4 separate regions of the Homo sapiens genome follow, and all the other regions are linked to region 1. The links are contacts of gene promoters, found by promoter capture Hi-C in blood cells and fetal thymus (Javierre and others, 2016). All regions are on one chromosome and are shown on one strand. The core of a region is centred on a gene start or on the middle of the fragment in contact, and the rest is flanking DNA. Distances in the headings are between cores, read along the strand shown. Region 1 holds the start of NUDT16L1 (nudix hydrolase 16 like 1). Region 2 holds the start of GLYR1 (glyoxylate reductase 1 homolog). Region 3 overlaps UBN1 (ubinuclein 1). Region 4 overlaps GLYR1 (glyoxylate reductase 1 homolog).

What was found. Contacts are between HindIII fragments. The CHiCAGO score rates a contact against its expected background, and 5 or more counts as called.
Region 2: the fragment with the promoter of GLYR1 here is called in contact with the fragment with the promoter of NUDT16L1 in region 1 in 2 of 17 cell types (M2 macrophages and erythroblasts); the score reaches 6.0 in M2 macrophages.
Region 3: a fragment that was not itself captured here is called in contact with the fragment with the promoter of NUDT16L1 in region 1 in 3 of 17 cell types (erythroblasts, M2 macrophages and megakaryocytes); the score reaches 7.1 in erythroblasts.
Region 4: a contact is called between a fragment that was not itself captured here and the fragment with the promoter of NUDT16L1 in region 1, in 1 of 17 cell types (M1 macrophages). The highest score is 5.1, in M1 macrophages.

The regions. Positions count from the first base shown.
Region 1 is chr16:4,692,296-4,695,577 of GRCh38, forward strand. It overlaps NUDT16L1 (nudix hydrolase 16 like 1), which reads left to right and starts at 1,267. Exons shown (of 3, transcript NM_032349.4): 1 at 1,267-1,584; 2 at 1,683-1,943; 3 at 2,663-3,282. The coding sequence starts at 1,432. The coding sequence ends at 2,884. RefSeq lists enhancers at 838-927, 1,179-1,686, 1,687-2,194, 2,797-3,282 and silencers at 1,118-1,477, 1,588-2,087. The HindIII fragment of the contact is 13,448 bases long and covers 1-3,282 here.
Region 2 is chr16:4,845,339-4,848,626 of GRCh38, forward strand. GLYR1 (glyoxylate reductase 1 homolog) reads right to left here and starts at 1,950. Exons shown (of 16, transcript NM_032569.4): 1 at 1,890-1,950; 2 at 836-872. The coding sequence starts at 1,927. It overlaps UBN1 (ubinuclein 1), which reads left to right and starts at 2,143. Exons shown (of 18, transcript NM_001079514.3): 1 at 2,143-2,872. RefSeq lists enhancers at 1,394-1,453, 1,754-1,813, 2,109-2,951 and silencers at 2,004-2,723, 2,734-2,823. The HindIII fragment of the contact is 6,120 bases long and covers 993-3,288 here.
Region 3 is chr16:4,863,693-4,867,020 of GRCh38, forward strand. The region is part of intron 7 of UBN1 (ubinuclein 1); the gene reads left to right. Among named protein-coding and RNA genes, the nearest start is that of UBN1, 18 kb to the left of the region's middle. The HindIII fragment of the contact is 763 bases long and covers 1,663-2,425 here.
Region 4 is chr16:4,824,945-4,828,503 of GRCh38, forward strand. All of the region lies in intron 5 of GLYR1 (glyoxylate reductase 1 homolog), which reads right to left. Among named protein-coding and RNA genes, the nearest start is that of GLYR1, 21 kb to the right of the region's middle. The HindIII fragment of the contact is 9,601 bases long and covers 1-3,559 here.

The sequences.
Region 1 (3,282 bases), core at 17-2,516:
CCTTCCCCTCGCTGCCCTCTCGCCTTCTCACATGGTCGCTCACTCTGGAATCTGGACTTCCCCTGCTGCTTGCAGCTGTCCCATGTGACCCCTGACCCACTGGTGGCCACAGGAGGAGAGAGAGGTGCCCTCTCTGGGTCCTTATTCTCCACATCTGAGGCCACCACGGACCTAACAGGTGAGTTTCCAATGCCCACCCTCTCCCTCTCTCTTCTCCTGCCTGCCTCCACTGAAGGCAGCCTTCTCTGTGCCAGCGAGCTCGGCCTCACTGCACGGCTCTCCCGAGGCTGTGCCCCAGCCCTGGGCACCCATGCTGTGAGTGCAGGCAGGGGGGTTCATGTGCTCAGCAAATCCATTCCCCTGGTGGGGAGGAAAGTGGCCCTGGGCCCTGCTGCTGGTGAGGTGAGCCTTGCCATCATGGAGTTCAGGGCACCTCGCTCTGCCTTGGGCTGTTTCGGATGCTTCTGAGCCCCAGAGACATCTCCAGTACAAACACAAGGTAAGTGGTAAGTACCTCAGGCCCTTGTGGAATCGGGATTCTGCCTCTGTCATCAACTGCCAGTTGTACTTAGGCAAGTTATGTCCCTCTCTGAGCTCCAAGTTCCTCATCGTAAATTGGGGAAACCCCTCTTCCCCCCACAGTACCTGGCACAGGGTGCCCGGCTTGGAGGATGCTGGAAAGGTCCAGCCCCGGAATTTAAGTCACTTTCTGCCCAGCAAGCTGGGTCCACAGAGCCCCAGAGCTCCCGGTCGTCCGCCCTGACCCAGCGTGGACTCGGGGACTGGGGCACTCAAGCCCTGCCAAGCCCTGCTCCCCGTGCTGTCCTGGATCGAGCCTGCCAGCAGGGTGGCTAGGTCGGGACAGCTGTCGTGCATGGCAGGCGAAGGCCATCTCCCTCCGGGCTTGGGTCCGGTGGCGCTGGCGGAGCAAGGCTCCGGGGCATCTCTGGCTCGTGTGGTCGTGCCAAGGGTGCCATTGCGGATGGACGGGGCCATGCGGGCCGGGTCGGCCTCCTGGGGAGAAACGGGTGGGCGCAAGGGGATCGGCGCCATCGAGGGTGGAGAAACCGCAGGGAATTTCGGCTGTCCGCTTTGGGGCGCCAAGGAAGATGTTCGTCGCCCACAATGTCAACCTTGAGCCACCACGGCACCGACCAGTCGTCTAGGCTCTCCCGTCGGAGGCGGGGCCGCCGCCCAGGGTGTGCGACTATTGGGTGACGGCTGACGCGCACCGCCCTCCTTTGCACACCGCCCGCAGCACCTCTCGACGACGCACCGCGGCGCTGCGAGGGGCTCGGTCCCGGGGCGCGCCGGCGATTGGCGGGGGAACCGGACCCGGGGGCGCGGCCGCCCGCGGATTGGCGAGGCACGGCGGGGGCGGGCTCGCGCATGCTCTTAAGTGGCAGCGGCGGGGACGGGGTCAGTGCCAAGATGTCGACGGCGGCGGTTCCGGAGCTGAAGCAGATCAGCCGGGTGGAGGCGATGCGCCTAGGGCCGGGCTGGAGCCACTCGTGCCACGCCATGCTGTACGCCGCCAACCCTGGGCAGCTCTTCGGCCGCATCCCCATGCGCTTCTCGGTGCTGGTGAGGACGGGCGAGGGCGCGGGCGAGGGTGCCGGCGCGGGCGGGCCCGGGCGGGGGCGTCCGTCGACCCCGCGGCTGTGACCCGCGCTCCCTTGCAGATGCAGATGCGTTTCGACGGGCTGCTGGGCTTCCCCGGGGGCTTCGTGGACCGGCGCTTCTGGTCGCTGGAGGACGGCCTGAACCGGGTGCTGGGCCTGGGCCTGGGCTGCCTGCGCCTCACCGAGGCCGACTACCTGAGCTCGCACCTGACCGAGGGCCCACACCGCGTCGTGGCGCACCTGTACGCGCGGCAGCTGACGCTGGAGCAGCTGCACGCCGTGGAGATCAGCGCGGTGCACTCGCGCGACCACGGCCTGGAGGTGGGGCCGCCGCCCGGGCCCCGCCCCCCGCCCCGGGGTTTGGCTCTGGCCCCGTGGAAGGCACCGATGGGTAACACGTCTCCTGAGGGTCCCCTGGCCGGGCTGGGTCGGGTGTCGCTGTCTCCAGCAATGGGGTGGGGAGAGGGGTCTGGGGCTGGGAGGCCGGGAAAGGAGGGGCGGGGGTGGGGGCCGGCGCTGGGGCTCCCTCAGGGCTGTGTTACATCCGCCTTGCTGCCTGCCATTGCCAATCCTGGGAGTGGGGGAGTGGGATCGGTGGGGAGGAAGGGATGGGGGAGGAGCGGGGATTGCTTGGGGAGTTGGGAAACTTGAGCACAGCGGGGGTTGTAAAACTTGGGAACCTCATGTTGGGCGTGAAGGCTCTTGGGATTTGTACTTTGTGGTCTGGAAGGGCTGGACTGCGGGTGTTCAGGCTTCGTTGGGTGGACGGGGGGAGCATGGGGTGCGGACCCCGGGGTGGGGTGGCCTGGGTACGAGGGGGGGGAGTGCATGGGGTCAGCCTCCACACTTGCTTGGGGAGGAGGGGGCTGCACTGCTCCGAGGGAGCTGGCTGGCTTCTGCCAGGCCCTGCGTGGGTCTCCCATTAAGTCCTTGGCAAAGCTGGCTGCTCATACCCTGGCCTCATAGCTTCCAGGCCCCTCCTGCTGGAGGTGCCATTGTGTGGCAGGCCTGGCCCCAACCCCTACCTCCTGTCTGCGCAGGTGCTGGGCCTCGTGCGGGTCCCGCTGTACACCCAGAAGGACCGAGTCGGAGGCTTCCCCAACTTCCTGAGCAACGCCTTCGTGAGCACGGCTAAGTGCCAGCTCCTCTTTGCCCTCAAGGTGCTCAACATGATGCCCGAGGAGAAGCTGGTTGAGGCCCTGGCTGCAGCCACCGAGAAGCAGAAGAAGGCCCTGGAGAAGTTGCTCCCGGCCTCCTCTTGAGGGCTGCCTGAGCTGGTGGCACCCTCCCCTGGGCCGGAAGACTGGGAATTCCTGCTAAGTGTGGCTTCTAGAGTGTTTGTGTGTACCCCGCTTCTGACTGCCTAGGGCGAGTGGGCATCCTGTCATCATCTCCACTGTCCCAAGCAGTCACTAGGTGGCGGCCGGGCCAGCTGGAACCCAGCCCATCCTCTCAGGCAGAGCAGGGTGGTCCGGGCACACTGGGCCTGCCTCTCCAGCCTCAGGATGCTCTTGTTTATTCTGGGCTCAGACCCTCCTCTTGTACGTCTCATCACAGCTGGTAGAGACCCAGGAGTGCCTGATTGTCCCACAGGGGTGGCGCACAGCTCTGGGACCACTCAGAAGATGGGATGTGTGGGTGGAGGATGCCTTGTCTCGGT
Region 2 (3,288 bases), core at 700-3,199, 150 kb after region 1:
TTCTATTGAGGTGTATGGAAATGTGTAGATATTCTAGAAGTTCCCAATATTTAACATGTAGCACAGTGCTCAGTAGACACAATATCCCTTTTACTGCAGTGGCCCTGTTTTACAAGCAGTTAAAACTAAGATCAACAGCATCCCCTGCCCCCCACCACCCCACCCCTGCTCCAATGTGACCCCATTATTACTGAAAAAATGCAGACGACACTCTTTGAAATACTTCCTGTGCAGGAAGGGTTGACACAGGACATAGTGAAAACAAAGGACAACCGAGGCACAGAAAACACCATATTGCAAAGAGACCATCTAAAGACACCTCCCGGGCTCCAAGCAAGAATATAAAAACACAACATTTGGAAAGCAATGATGGATCACCTCATGCAAAATCTGGAATGCCAACTTCTGCAAAGAGGCACTGGAGTAGCACATATGGTAACATGGAAAGAAGATTTAAACTTAGTTGGGACAAAAATACTTTGGCTTTTCACTAACCTACATTTAGACTTTCTTCCTGGATAATTTATATTTTCTTCTCCTTTTGTTACATTTAAGCATAAAGCTAAATTCAGACTAGAATTATTTCCGGGGTTAAAAAAGAAACTTCATAAACCTCCTCTAAATCCAGAAATAAGGGTTTAGAGAAGATTTAATGATCTGGTGTATACTGCATTGCCTTTTAAAAAATAACCGATACTAGGGGAAAAAAAATTCTAAGTGCCATCTGAATGAGCCCAATTTAACTCAATACTAGAAACTGAGAGGAATGCATCTTACATTCTCCACCTCTTCAAACCCAACTTCAGATCTCTTCCTTTAGTAGCAAGACACTCACCTTTCCTGGCCAAGGAGGATATCGGCCGAGTTTCCCCCTAGAGAAAACACAAAGAGTCAACACTTGCCCTGCAAAAGCCAGTCCATCTCCTTCAACCCACTCAATACGCAATTTATTTTCCTAAATCTCTGCTGGCATCCTCAAATGCCGAAACAAAAGCTTTCATAGCTGGGCCCAACACCCTCAGAAGTAAAATGCAAAATTGTATACTTATGTGCACAACGCATATCCATTCTTCTGTTGACAAGGAATACAGAACAACACAACTGTCAAAAGTCACTTGTCTAGAGCTTCTTAATGACGGGGGTGGGAGGACAGCTTCCTCTGTAAACACAGACTTTCCCTCCCTAAGTCTGGTTTAATTCAACAGGAGACCTGCCTGGCTTTGACAAATGCTAATGGAAGCCTTCCTCTGGGTGGAGAAACAAGCTACGCAGCTCGAGGGAGGCGGCGACAAAGTCTTGGTTCGGGCGGTTGTCTGGGACACAGAAGCAGACCGCGGGAGGCACCCAAGCGTGCACTGGTCACTGCCAAGCCATCGGTTGTAAAGGAGAAGTCCCCCCGCCGTTTCTTCGCGGGGCAACGCCAGCAGTCCGGTTTAGACAACCCCGGCTGAGCCGGCCGCACAGGTCGGCTGCATCGCAACCTGGGCTTTGACCGAATGGCACCGGCCAGATCTCGCAGGTCCGGTCCCCGGCGCTTCTGCTTTCTGGGAAGCCCCAACAAGACCCCGGGGACCGGTCGTCCGGGGAAGCCTCGCGGCACCGGCGGCTCCCTTCACGGGGGCCGCCAGTATCTGGGCCCCGAGTGCAGACCCCACCCGGCCGGCCTCGGGGATCAAAGCCGGTGCCCGACGTGGCCACCCTCGGCCTCGGTCCCCCGGGACTGGACTGCCCCTTCCGCCTGGCGCCGCTCGCAAGCGCCGGCACCTTCTCTTCCCCTCTCTCCGCGACCTGGAGCGCATAAAAAGGCAGCTCCAGGGCCGGCAGCGAACCCCGCGCCCAGGCGGGTAGCTCCCCGGCGCGTCTCGGTTGGCCCGGCCGCTCGGACTCACCACACCAAGTCGCCGAGCCGCAGACTCACAGCCGCCATCTTACCACCCAACCACCGCCGACGCACGGGCCGCCGGGAACAGCAAGTCGCCCCGGCGCCGCCCATTGGAGTGGGCCCGACCACGTGACGGGGGCCGGCTGTCACTGGCCACGCCGCTACTCTGACGTCACCGCGCCCGCCGGGGATCATTGGTCGACCGAGGGGCACGTGACGCGAGCGCCGCGGTCTCCGCGCGCCGGAGCGCAGAGACTCCCGGCTCCTTCCCCCTCCCTTCGGCTCGTGACAACGAAGCGCCCGCGGTCTGAGGCGGCGGCGGCGGCGACGGTGCGACCGGCTGAGCGCGAGAGGGAGCCGGCCTCGCGGCTCGCCCCGCCCCCGGGTCTTGGACTCCGCGCCCCTCCCCTCTCGGCGCTTCCGTTACGCCCGTTGGTCCGGCGCGGGCCCCGGGGCCATTCCCGAGCCCGAGGCGCTGGTCGGCCCCGTCGCAGCGCCAGTGAGCTACCCTGACGGAGCTCGGCGCGGCCTGGAACTCAGCCTCCGCCGGGTCTGGGCTCCCGCGCCCGGCAACTCTGCTTGGCCGCAGGCCGGGAGGCCCCGGTGTCCGCGCCCGTCCGCTCCCGCCGCCCGTGTTCTTTGGAGCGCTCCTCCCGACGGCCGCTTTCGGAGGCGCCGTCTGAGCGCGGGGTCCCGCGCCGCAAGTTCTCCTGGGGCGACCGGAGGCTGCTCCCCCGACCCCCTGGTGTCCCCGGAGTGGCTGCGCGGACGTCGAGTTGGCATTTCTTCGCTTCCTCCTGGGCCGGCGCGCGGCGCGGCACACCAGGCTCCCCTGGGCTCGGGGACCCGGCCATGGGCCGAGGCGCGGGCCGCCCGCCCGCTGGGAGCCACGGCTTAGCAGCCGACCGCTAGCTGCGCCGCCGCCCGGGGACCGGCATGAGGACCGCCGCGGGGGGACGTCTGCGGCCCGCGTCGGCGCTGGGGACAAAGGTGCGTGTCGTTGTCGGGTCCGGGCTCTCTCGTTAGCCTTGCCCTAGTTTTGCACTTTTGAAAAAGTTGTGACAACAGGAAGACAGATGCCGGGCGTAGTTTGGACACTTTAAAACTGAACCATGAACTGGGAAGTGTTAACTGCAGTTGAGCGCAGCGTCGGCCCAAACTTCAGCAGACCAGGTAGAATCACAATTTTGCAAAAGATCCCAGTCCCGATCACAGACTCCACAGTGTTAAGGATTGACTTAGACTTGGTGTCGGGCTCTTGTTGAGTCACTGCCAGCTGGCAAAGGTGGCGAGTCGACACGCATTTCCCCAAGGCATTGTGGTGGTTAGAGATTTCGGTTGCAAGTCGGTGTTTAGCGTACTGGGTCGTCCCGCAGCCTGATTTTTCTTGGGAGATCAGTTTCCCT
Region 3 (3,328 bases), core at 794-3,293, 170 kb after region 1:
CACTGTCTGCAAAACACCCCCCAAAATTTGCCTTGTCATAGCAGTTCGTTTCTCCTGACTCTGGGCCAACGCTCATGGCTGCATTCAGCTGGCAAGTTGGCCAGGTGCTGGCAGGGCTTTTCTTTCCTGGCCTTTCATCCTGCCTTCTTCAGGGCTTGGTGGTCTCAGGGCAACATCTCAAGAGGGGAAAGGTGGAAGCTGCAGGGCCCTTGAGAGCTAGCCTTAGAGGCTATGTGTATCACATGACTTCCAGCACACTTTTGGTCAGAGCAAATCACAAGAGCCGCCCAGATCCAAGGATTAGGGAGCTAGGGTGCACCTCTTTGGGAGGAGAATTTCTTTGTGGGAGGAATCTGTGATCCTGGTTTGTTGTTGTTGTTGCCTTTTTTTTTTTTTTTTTTTTTTTGAGACAGAGTCTGACTCCATCACCCAGGCTGGAGTGCAGTGGTGCAATCTCAGCTCACTGCAACATCCACCTCCGCCTTCTGGGTTCAAGTGATTCTTGTGCCTCAGCCTCCCGAGTAGCTGGGATTACAGGCGTGAGCCACTGCGCCTGGCCTGTGTTCCTGTTTTGTATTCTGCCACAGTACATAGCAGATTCTTATCCCATGTGTATTGATCCCTTAGGGGAAAAAACTCTGGGAAGCAAAATTAGATATATCTTCTAACTAAATATGGTACTTAAAACTTTAAAAAATGTCTTTGAAAACTTGTGTATGTTAAAGAGGTCCTCTGAGAGGGAACCTTGGTGATGCCTCTGCCACGTTCACTACATTCTCACATCAGCCTGTTTTTTGTTACTGATTTGTATTGTACATTTGTATAGGCCCCAGGGAATCCAGTGATTTGATGGCCTTACCCTGCCCTCTGTTAATATGCATTGATGGTGTCTTTTGTCTTGGTTGTTGGCAGGTACAGGTGCTGACAAAGCTCAGGTTTGATGCTCCTTTGGGTTATTGTCTTGAGGTAGTTTGACAGCTACTCAGCCTTGGGCTGGACAAATAACCCAGATCTATTTTGGTTCTCTTTAGTCAAGCATAACATAGAGACAATACTAAGAGCAGGAATCAAAGAGACCCCATGTCACCCATTCTGCTCTGCCCTCTATAGAATTAGAACCCCTCATCACAAGAAGTGCAGGGAGAGATGGATCCAAAGAGAATAACGTAGGGGGAAAAAAAACGAAAACAACTTGTTTGATCTTTTTAAAAAAAATCATGCCCGATTTTCTCCTACTCAGCAAAAACAGATACAGTATATAAGATTTTGAGCTGGGTGCTAAAAGGCTACAGGTGACTTTTCTTAGAATAAATAAAACAGCTCATTAAAAGGCTGTTGGAACTCTTATAAATCAGCATGATTGGGATGTTTAACCTCATTTACTAGTTAACTTAGGATTGATTAATTCACACAACTTCTGGGGTAAGAGTGTCTCTTTTTAGGGGTGAGGGACCCCATTTATTTTTGGAAGACTATCAGATATATATCCAATTGCTCTTTTAATTAGATTTACTTTAAAATGCCGCAGTCGACTCTTCAGTATAAAGCCAGACCCTCAGAGATATTGTCTATGCAATTCAAAAGGTTTACAGAAAAGTACTTTCTAAAATTACATAATATTATTTAAAATATTTTTAAAGATTGCGTAAAGATTACATAGAAAGCTTCTGAAATATTGTACAAGTGGCTATCTAAACAGAAAATTTGGCAGGGCGCGGTGGCTCATGCCTGTAATCGCAGTACTTTGGGAGGCCGAGGTGGGAGGATCACCTGAGCCCAGGAGTTCCAGACCAGCCTGGGTAACAGAGTGAGAAAAAAAAATCTAAAAATTAGTCAGGCGTGGTTGCGTGCAGCTGTAGTCCCAGCTGCTTGGGAAGCTGAGGCGGGAGGATTATTTGAGCCTGGGAGGTCAAGGCTGTATGAGCTGCGATCACGTCACTGCACTCCAGAATGGGTGACAGAGTGAGACCATCTCAATAAAATAAGATGCTGGGCATGGTGGCTCAGCCTGTAATCCCAGCATTTTGGGTGGCTGAGGCGGGCGGATCACTTGGGGTCAGATGTTTGAGACCAGCCTGGCCAACATGGTGAAACCCCATCTCTACTAAAAATACAAAAAATTAGCCGAACATGGGGGTGGGTGCCTGTAATCCCAGCTACTCAGGAGGCTGAGGCAGGAGAATCACTTGAACCCGGGAGGTGGAGGTTGCAGTGAGCTGAGATCACGCCATTGCACTCCAGCCTGGGCAACAGAACAAGACTCCGTCTCAAAAACTAAACTAAAATAAAAAAATAAAAAATAATAAGATAAAATTTGATTGGAAGTTTAAGCTGTAGATGGGTCTGAAAGTGTGGCATGTGAAATACATGTTAATTAGTTTGAATTAATGTAAGGGTGCTTCTCGATCTTAAAACTAGCAGTGTAAGCTTAAGCAAAAAAAGTTCAGTTTTATTTTTTCCCAGACTAATATAATTCTAGTACCTTCCAAGTGCTAAGGTAGAATTCTGAATGTTTCCAAGAGTGTAAGAAATTGGCACATGGCTGGGTGAAAAGTCATGCCCTTTTTTTCCATTATTCGTCTGTGGATTTCACCCCTCTGGGCTTTCACCTAGCCAAGGGATCTGTAGAAGCTTGAGTTTTGCGCATTTTCTTCTGACTTAGTTTTGGTTGTTTGGTGTTAAGCTTTTCTTCCTGTGGCGTGCCGTTTTACAGTAGTATCTTCATTTGTTGATTCATTCACTCAGTCAACATTTAGTAAATATTATGTGACAGGCAGCCATGGGAAATATACTGATGAATAAGACTCAGTTCTATATTTTATTTTATTATTATTTTTTAAGACAGGGTCTTGCTCTGTCACCCAGGCTGGAGTGCAGTGGCACGATCTTGCCTTACTGCAACCTCCACGCCCAGGGCTCAAGTGATCCTGCCACCTCAGCCTCCAGAGTAGTTGGGACCACAGGCATGCACCACCATGCCCAGCTTTTTTTTGTATTTTTAGTAGAGACAGGGTCTCATCATGTGCCCAAGCTGGTCTGAAACTCCTGAGCTCGCGTGTTCCGCCCACCTTGGCCTCCCAATGTGTTAGGATTACAGGTGTGAGCCACCGCGCCGGGCCAAGGTTCCATTCTTGTCTTTCATGAGCTCGTTACATAAATGGACCCGATAGATACGCAGACAATGGACTGTAGTACAGAGCAGAATGAAGTAAGCTTTGTGATGTGTGGACGGCCAGATAGCCGGACTTAAGGGGTTAAAGAGAGGCTCTTGGGGGGCATATAGGAAGCAGACTGGAGGCAACAGGCTTCGCCGGCCTCCTGGGGAAGA
Region 4 (3,559 bases), core at 437-2,936, 130 kb after region 1:
GAGCCCTTCTTGACCCCTCTCTTCTCTAATCCACTGACAATGAATGGGGCTTTACAGTTGGCGATCTGCCCAACCCCTTCTTCTCACCATCCCTGCTACTAATACCTAAGCTCAGGCCACCTGGACAATTGCAAAAATAAATCTCCCTGCTTCCACTCACAGTCTAGTCTCTACACAGCAGCCAGAGTCAGCTACCAAAAGGGCCAATCAGATTATGATGCTTCTTTGCCTTAAACTGCCTTCCAGTCTCACATAGTAAAGCTACGGGCTTCATGAGCATGGTCTACAGGGAGGGTCTTGCAAGTTCTGCCGTCTCCCACCCATCCCACGCCAATCTCCAACCTCAAGTCCTATTTCTTCCCCCGTCACTGCTCTCTAGCTCGTTAGCACCCTGCTGGCTTTCCCCCCCGCACCAAACACACCAAGCATGTGCCTGCCCTGGCACCCTTGTGCTACTTGGAACGTTCTTCTGACAGTTATCTCCTTGGCTCAGGCTCGCTTTGGGACTCTGCTGAAATGTCACCTTATCAGAGTGGCTTCACCTGACCTCTTTTTATGTTTGCCCATAGAACATGATGCTGATGTGGATTATAATGAGAACAAATGCCTTCATAGGGCTTACTATGTGCTAGACATCACAATAAGTCCTATTTTATACATACATTCTCATGTAATTCTTGCCCCTTCATGAAACAGAATTATTATCATCTTCTTTTTTTTTTTTTGAGACGGAGTCTTGCTCTGTAGCCCAGGCTGCAGTGCAGTGGCACAATCTTGGCTCACTGCAACCTCTGTCTCCTGGGTTCCAGCGATTCTCCTGCCTCAGCCTCCTGAGTAGCTGGGACCACAGGCGCGCGGCCACCATGCCCAGCTAATTTTTTGTATTTTTAGTAGAGACGGGGTTTCACCATGTTAGCCAGGATGGTCTCGATCTCCTGACCTCGTGATCCGCCCGCCTCGGCCTCCCAAAGTGCTGGGATTACAGGCGTGAGCCACTGCACCCAGCCCTATTATAATCTTCTTTTACAGAATAGAAAACTAAGGCACACAGAGCTTAAGTAACCTTGCTTAAGGTCACCGAGTCAGTCACTGGTGTGGTAGACACAACTTATTTATTTATTTGGAGGCATAGTCTAGCTGTCACCCAGGCTGGAGTGCAGTGACTCAATTATGGCTCACTGCAGCCTCAACCACTTGAGCTCAAGTGATCTTCCCACCTCAGCCTCCTGGGTAGCTGGGACTACAGGTGTGTGCCACTACGCCCAGCTAATTTTTTATTTTTATTTTTTGTAGATGTATTATTTATTTGCAATTATTTGTTTTCTGTAATTTCTAATTTTTTGTTTTTATAGGGTCTTGCTATGTTGGCCAGACTGGTCTCTAACTTCTGGCCTCAAGTGGTCCTCCTACCTCGGCCTTCCAAAGTGCTGGGATTATGGGAGTGAGCCACTGTGCCTAGCAGACTGACAGAATTTGGCTCCAGGGTCTGTCATATTAGAAGCACATCCTAGAAAAGCAAGAACTCTGCCAGTCTGGCCTACTCTACAACCCATGCTGCCATACAGTCCAGGTTCAATTCTTACTGAAGGAGCCTCGTCTGACTTTTATGCTGCTTTCTCTCCAGGCATTTGGCCTATAGGAGAATTACTCAATAAACATTTGTTGAATGCAGAGGTTTTTGGGGGAAAAGAAAAGGCCCAGCCCAGAGCTGCCCAAAAGAATATTCTGCAATGATGGGCGTGTACTCCATCTGCACTGTGTGATAGAGCAGGCGCCAGTCAAGCGTCACTGTGGAGCATCTCACACAATAGGGTGATGGAGAAGCTGCATTTTAATGTGCATTTAATTTCAATTTAAATGGCCAATTGTGGCTGGGGCAGCACAGCTGTCTTGGGTGGTGCAGCCCTAGGACTCACCTAAGGCCACAATGACCCAATGGAAACAAGGAGGAGGCAGCTTGTAACTCTCAGTTTGGCACTAAGGAAGGGCCCCAACTCCTAAACTTCTGCTCCTCGTGTGAGTATGGGATTTTGGGAGAGTCACAGAACTAACAGCGCTACTTTGATCTGGGTGGGCTGTGCCCAGAGTTCATCCCCAGAAAGAGGGTAGGTGGGCGCTGCTGGGGTGCAGCTCTTACATGCAGGTCCAGACGCAAACCCAGCCTTTCCCTGCCTGCCTCCGCCATCAAGGTCAGCTTTTTCCATTAATCCTCACGGGGCAGGAGATTATGTCCCGGAATGGCACTCAGCTGGGCTTTGCCCAGTTATCAGCCTATGTGACTGCTCAGTGTTTCTGAGAGGAGCTCGCCAGCCAAATGACAATTACTATAGCAACACACACACAAACACCCTCCTCTGAGACTACGGGATGTATCGCATTTAAAACACACCAAAATTCCAAAGCCCAGGCACCGATTCCCTACCTGTCTGAAGGTGCTGAACTGAAACGGCTATCTGTCCTGTACCACATGCCAGCTCTGTCCTCTCCTGCTCATACGTCCTTTCACTATGGGCCAGGTGAAGCACAAAGAACAGGCAGGAAGGACACCTCGAAGGGTCAATAGCAGCTAGAGCTCCTGGACCACAGACACACCTCGTTTTATTATGCGTTGTTTTATTGTGCTTTGTAGGTGTTGCACTTAAAAAAACAAACAAACAAACAAACAAAAAAAACGGGCCAGGCACGGTGGCTCACGCCTGTCATCCCAGCACTTTGGGAGGCCGAGGCAGGTGGATCATGAGGTCAGGAGATCGACACCATCCTGGCTAACATGATGAAACCCCGTCTCTACTAAAAACACAAAAAATTAGCCGGGCGTGGTGGCGGGCACCTGTAGTCCCAGCTGCTCCAGAGGCTGAGGCAGGAGAATGGCATTAACCCAGGAGGCGGAGCTTGCAGTGAGCCGAGATTGCGCCACTGCACCGCAGCCTGGGCGACAGCACGAGACTCCGTCTCAAAAAAAACAAACCAAAAAACCAAAAAACCAAAAAACGAATTGAAGGTTTGTGGCAACCCAGTATCAATCAAATCTATGGGGGACATTTTCCCAACAGCATGTGTTCACTTTGTGTCTCTGTCAGCATTTTTTTTTTTAAGCAATGAAGTATTTTTAACTTAAGGCATGTATATATATATATTTTTTTGAGATGGAGTCTCGCTCTGTCACCCAGGCTGGGGTGCAGTGGCGTGATCTCGGCTCACTTCAAGCTCCGCCTCCCGGGTTCACGCCATTCTCCTACCTCAGCCTCCTGAGTAGCTGGGACTATAGGCGCCCACCACCATGCCCGGCTAATTTTTCGTATTTTTAGTAGAGACGGGGTTTCACCGTGTTAGCCAGGATGGTCTCCATCTCCTGACCTCATGATCCGCCCGCCTCGGCCTCCCAAAGCGCTGGGATTACAGGCGTGAGCCACCGCGCCCGGCAAAGGTATGTACATTTTAAAAAGACATATTGCTATTGTACCACTTAATAGACTACAGTATAAACCTAACTTTAACATGCAATGGGAAACCAAGACGTTTGTGTGACCTGCAATGATCTGGAATCGAACCTGCAGTA